Linked DNA regions of Homo sapiens: region 1 is linked to region 2. Evidence: promoter capture Hi-C in 16 types of primary human blood cells and fetal thymus (Javierre and others, 2016). All regions are on one chromosome and are shown on one strand. Each heading gives the region's core, a stretch centred on a gene start or on the middle of the fragment in contact. The rest is flanking DNA. Distances are from core to core; before and after follow the strand shown.

What was found. The method cuts DNA at HindIII sites, captures the fragments that hold promoters and counts their contacts. A CHiCAGO score of 5 or more calls a contact.
Region 1: a contact is called between a fragment that was not itself captured here and the fragment with the promoter of OR10D3 in region 2, in 2 of 17 cell types (erythroblasts and megakaryocytes). The highest score is 6.2, in erythroblasts.

Annotation. Positions count from the first base shown.
Region 1 is chr11:124,069,235-124,072,311 of GRCh38, forward strand. No RefSeq gene overlaps it. Among named protein-coding and RNA genes, the nearest start is that of OR10G7, 29 kb to the left of the region's middle. The HindIII fragment of the contact is 5,328 bases long and covers 1-3,077 here.
Region 2 is chr11:124,181,542-124,184,806 of GRCh38, forward strand. OR10D3 (olfactory receptor family 10 subfamily D member 3) reads left to right here and starts at 1,804. Exons shown (of 2, transcript NM_001355213.3): 1 at 1,804-1,842. The HindIII fragment of the contact is 5,579 bases long and covers 1-3,265 here.

The sequences.
Region 1 (3,077 bases), core at 520-3,019, 110 kb before region 2:
ATGGTATAACACGGTGGTTTTGAATAAGAGGAAAGGAGAAATGGATGAATGTAGTGAAAAAAATCTTACAGAAATGATATAAACTATTTCAGGGGATAAAAGCATTATGAAACAATTTCGTTCTATCTATTGTAACTTCCTATATGGCACTCTTTGTTCAGCTCCTGCTTCCCCATTTAATGAACTAATTTAAATTACATCCAAAGTAGATTATGTGTTGAAGTGGGAAAAGTTCCCTTAGCCCCCTCACAGGGTGTGCGAAGGGGGTGTGGCTCGCTTCTACGGTGCCCAGCTGCTCAAACCTCTAGGGGGAGCTTGCAGACCGGCAGGCTGTGGGGCTCCGACCTCATGGCAGCGTCTAAGGGTGGATGTTTACAGCTGAAGCTCCAGTGGGCGTGTGTTACAGTGCGCTCTTTCAGTTTAGCCGTCCGTTGGCAGCTTGTGTTAATCAGCTTAATTAGACCCTCTGCCTTATAGCAAGGGTGGAGGACTCTCTGTATCCCGGGGTTCTTGCCTTGGTGTACTAGAAGAATCAGATCACATATGGGCTTGGAGAATGAGTGCCAAATTTTATTGAATGGTGGAAATAGCTCTCAGCAGACGGATGGGGAGCCAGAAGGGGAGCGGGAAGGTGGTTTTCCCATGGAGTCAGCTCAGCGGCGTGACTCTCCTCTGACAGCTCCAGCTAAACTCCGCTTCATTCCACTGGTCAATGGCCTGCCGGCGTCTGCTGGTGCCGTTCGGTGTGCTCTTCAACCGAAGTGTTCCTCTTGATGTCTAGCCGCTTCTGTGTTCTCCTGCTGATGTGTTTCTCACGATGTCCAGCTGCTGTGTCCGTGCGCACTAGGGTCTCAGGGTTTTTATAGGCACAGGATGGGGACATGGTGGGCCAGGGTGGTCTTGGGAAATGCAACATTTGGACCTGAAAGCAGGAGTGCCTGTTCTCCCCTAGTTCCATGGGCACAGGTCCAGGGGTGGAGCCCTCCCCAGGGACCCGCCGTTCTCCTCCCAGCCCTTCCTTGCCCCCTCCCATATCAGTACTGTGCAGAAAAATTGAATTATGAAATTATAGTGAAAAGGTCATTACATGTTAGCCAGTTCACATTTTCTCCCAGTGGAGAACCCACTCTGCTTGGTCCCTCATGTCTATTTAGCTACCTTCCGTAGAGCAGAAATCTTACACCGCCAGCATAGTTTGTGTCACAGCTATCATATTCACACACCCTACTTCATGTTATGGAATAAAATGGAGCCCTAACCAAATTTGTTTAATTATACAAAAATAAAGTTTAGTTACTTTTTTGAGGTTCTTGCTCTGTCTCTCGGGCTAGAATGCAGAGATACAATCCTAGTTCACTGCAGCCTCAACCTTCTGGGCTCAATCGATCCTCTCACCTCAGCCTTCAAGTAGCTGAAACTACAGGCATGTGACACCATGCCCAGCTAAGTTTTATATTTTCTGTAGAGACAAGGTTTTACCATGTTGCCCAGGCTGGTCTCAAACTCCTGGGCTTGAGTGATCCTCCTGCCTTGGCCTCCCAACGTGCTTGGATCACAGGTGTGAGCCACCACACCTGGCCTAGTTCCATTTTTAAAACTGTTTACTTGCTGACATATCTATTTGCTGAAGGTTTTAGAATGCTCTTGTCAGAATAAAGTTTAAAAAAAGGCTGTAATTATTTTTAATAATTTTATTTTTGTAGGTTTTCACATTTTGAATGTTAATTCTTGTTTCAAGAGGATTTCTGATTATAAGTAGAATATCCTTTTGTGACTATGAGAGTGTGTGTGTGTGTGTGTGTGCGTGTGTGTGTGTGACTGTTCTCATGGTGGAGGCGTAGGAAAGTAATAGTAATAGTAGTGTTCTTTCATAGTGGCCTCAGATGAGGAAGTGGGAAAGACTATAAATATCTTTCCTGCTTATAGCATGTTAAAAAGCACTTATGTGTGAATCAGCAAAATACCGGGGTTCTAACAGTGGTTCCACTAATAATAGCCTGTGTGGTCCTGAATAAATTATTTTGTCTCTATGGCTTTAGTTCTAATATTTGTAAAATGAAGAGGTTGAACTAGATCATTTTAGAGGATTCTTTCACATCTACAAATTGTGTACCATTACAGGAATTTTCATTTACAGGAAGATGTTCATGACTTTGGGGAAAAAAAGTGTCTAGAGGTCTTCTAATTTCTGATTTTGGTAGGGCAATGATATTTCCATTTCCAGTAGTACTCTTGATTTTGAAATCCCGCTCTTGAAACAGGACTCCGAATTAAGGTGAAATACCTAACATCGGCCGGCAGATGGCACTATTGGGGCACCGACAACCAGATTCCTCTTCACTAACAAGTAGCTTGCAATAAAGACCCTGGAGCTGAATCAATAGGATAAAGAATGGTTGAAATTATTATTAGAACTGTGTTAGAGAGGTCTGTGATGCTTATGATTTCTGATGGCACCACCATGTGCTATAGTCTTTCTAGAGAGCCAGTTAAATAACCAGTCAATTGCTACCATTTTTACCAATTGGTGTCAGTAGACCCACGACTCTTTGTGTGTAAACAGCCATTGGGTTCACAAGGTGTTTCAGGTAAGAATGGAGAAAGTCTTGATGGAAATACAGCTGGCAAAGGTCACAGGACCCTGCCTGTGTTTACAGACTGCACAAGAACCACTTGGTGCTAAAAGCACGTGGCCGACAGATCGGCTTCAGCACGTACCTTCATCATTCCTCTTCTGAGCTAGCAGAGAAGGGAATTTGACTTCTTTTTTTTTCCTTCCATAGAGCGGGGCTTGAATTCCTTTGGCAGGGAGTCCCCAAAGTTAATTTTAACCCAGGAAATTGTGCATTAATAACGTGATACGAGTTTTGCTTTCAACAAAAGAAAACAGAATAAAAGGAATTTCCCAGCTACAGGATATTCTGACTATTCTGTGACATACAGTTTGATAAAACTTACACTAAATCTGACGGAAAGGTTTGTTTGTGATGGAGAAGGAAAGAGAGAAGTGCTTGTCCTTTTGTCTTATGTAGTCCCGCAGGAATACACTGACTTATTTCTACCTTTTCCACATCTTT
Region 2 (3,265 bases), core at 554-3,053:
CTTCAGAGGAGACCACAGCCCCAGCTGGTAGCTTGACTGTAACTTCATGAGAGACCCTGATCCAGAGGAATTGAGTTAAGGTGTGCTTGGATTTCTGAGTCACAGAAAGCATGAGATAATAAATGCCTCTAAGCCACAAAAGTTTGGAGTAATTGGTTATGCAGTAAGCAATAGAAACTTTTACATACGACTCTTCATATTTTCTATTTTTAGTCAGTTTTCACAAATTAATAAGCATTTGATAAATTATTTTGACAAATCATTTGAATATCTTGGCAAATGTTGTAATATCTCTTTTCATTCTGCTTAATCCATGTGCTTCTGTCATCCTTTCATTCCTCATGTTTATATGTGCCTTCTCACTTTTTTCAAGAATCATTTTTAAAGAAGTACTTCTATTTTCTTAGTCTTTTCAAAGAGCCAAATTTAGCATTGCTGACCTCTTTTCTTTTGTTTTCTCTACTTTATTATTTCAGGTTTTTACATATTTTTCAGTTCTTTGACAACTCTGTAACTGTTACGTTACATGAAAGAGGAATAATTTCCAGATTACAAATGTCTGGAATCTCAAAGGGCAAGGTTCTTGACTCCTTTCACAGAAGAGAAGGTCAAGATTAAGGAAATTTGTCTTATTCTTGGTTGTATAGGTTATTAATTAATGTTTGTTGAATAATACTTTGATATAATTCTGGGAATATCATCAGGAGAACTATTTCTGGTTCAGGAAATTCAGCTGTGCCAATTGACAAATGTTTGTTGGAGTCTAGGAAAAGAAATTCTATTTCTATATCAAAATATTAGAAACCATAGTCTGAAAAGTAGAAGAACTATGTTAGTTCACTAGGGCTGCCATAACAAAACAGAATATACTAGGTGACACAAACAACAGGAATTTTTTTTCTCGCAGTTCTGCAGATTGTAAAATTCAAGATCAAGGTTGCACAGGTTTTGCAGCAGGGTTTGGTTTCTGGGGCTTAGAGATGGGGCTGTCTTCTTGCTGTGTTCTCACATGGAGAGATAAAGGGAGAGAAAAAGACAGGCAGAGAGAGAGAGAGAAAGAGACAGAGAGAGAGATCTGATGTCTCTCCTTTTACAAAGATACCAGTTCTATTGCATCAGGGCTTCATCCTTATGGTCTCATTTAACTTTATTCACCTTCTTAAAGACCCTACTTCCAATACAGTTACGTGGATTGGGTGTGTTAAGAGTTTCAACACGAATTTTTGAAGGAACACAATTCAGTTCATGGCAAGAACTATGAAGAAACTGAGATTAAAATATTTAAAATTGGATATTTTTAAAAGTCTGAGATATATGGTTGTTAGGTTATTTCTCATTCCGATAATGTATCCTGAAACTGGGTAACTGGTTTCTACATATGTCCTAGGATTGGGCTATACCATTCACCTTTTTTCTCCTTTCCCAGGGTCAATCTTAGAGGTAGAAAATAGAGATTTGGCTCCCCCTTGTTCCTATCCAGCACTGTCACAGTGGGAAACATCACCATATTCTATTTCAACTAGACAGTTTACTCACTTCTAATTACTCCCTTTGCTCAACAACCTCCTTGAATAGGACTCATTCAGGAATGGGGTCCCAAAGGCTCCAAAGATATTTAAATTTCCACGTAGGAGAAAGCAATGTAGATATCAGTGTCTTGGAAGATGTCTGTGCAGAAGACAGAGACGCACGCTGCTGCATGTCATTTAGTCAGAGTTTATTTGGCTAAGAAGAAAGCATTCCAGATCATGGGTGGAGATCCCTAACCTCTAATATGCCAAAGGAAAATTTGGACTAAAAATCCTATACAAACAGATGATTAAATGATCATACTTTCTCTTTGTAAGTTACATAAGTGCCATCTTTGCCTCTTTCTCTCTCTTTCTTTCTCTCTCTCTTTCTCTCTCTCTTTCTCTCTCTTTCTCTTTCTTTCTCTTTTTTTCTCTTTCTTTTTTTTTCTTTCTTTCCCCTTCCTTCCTTCCCTCCCTCCCTCCCTGCCTCCTTCCCTCCTTCCCTCCTTCCCTCCCTCCCTCCCTCCCTGAGTCTCACTCTGTTGGCCAGGCTGAAGTGCAGTGGCACGATCTCAGCTCACTGCAACCTCCACCTCCCGGGTTCAAGCAATTCTCCTGCCTTAGTCTCCAGAGTAGCTGAAATTATAGGGGCCCTCACCTCTTTTTTCACTCCTCTTTTATGCTTTGTGTATCCAATGGAGAGGAAAATTTGGAGTCCTCAGTTTACAAAGTATTCTCAGAATTCAGAATGAACAGAGAGCATGGATCTACTGGCCAGAAGAATAGATCTTATTTGCTTGGTTTATCTTTGAGCCCATTGTGCTGGCCCATCAGCTCACAAACCCCATTCTTGTTATTTCACTTTACAATCAGGAATTTGGACTTGATTTTATATTATTAAAGTAACAGAAACTCTAAATGAGCCCATATGTGGATATCTTCATTTGATTCTTTCTTTGATGTATGACAGCCAGGACATTTTTGGAAGCAGTATAGATTATATGTAGCACTTGTCTTGGGTCTGATTGCTTTTTGGAATGTAGTGTAGAGCTTCTTCTGGAGTGCAGGTGACATGATTGTAAACAGAGAAATTCCAAATATACAGGAAATGGGCAAAAGAGAAACAGGTAGATGATCAAGTTGCTTTAGAAGACTGTGAGGAGAAATTACTATCTGATAGTACCACACAGATCCTTGCACAAGAGGAATGATATCCAATTCTTGCCAGGCATTGAGTGAGTTATCTTATTTCCTTCATCAAACGTTTATTGAAAAAGGCACTGTTCTTTGCACTGAGAGTATAATCGTAAACACAAAAAATATTTACTCTCCTAGATGTTATATTTGTGTGTGTGTGGGGAGGTAGCTGGATATATATTGATTTTCCATTGCTTACTAAGGAGGAGGAGGAACAACATTTTAAGAGCCTGGTGATGTCCAAATGAAAAACATGGTTAATACCGGGGTAAGATTTGACAAGGCCAGTAATGCCGTGATCTATCACAGATGGATCCATCCAGACCCGGGGGAAAGACTGATGTTTAAAAAGAAAAAAAAAGAATGTAGATGCCTAGTTCTACCAAGAACTAGCTGCCTTAATTTAGGAGAGTCACCTAGCCTTCCTACTGCTCAAATGTAATCTTTTCTGTAGACCTCCTCAAAAAGTGACTGCCAGGATTAGATGAACGGAGATCATGTTGTATAAGTGTTTTGAACTGCAAAGCAGGGATCAACCTTTATGATTCCCTTAAAAA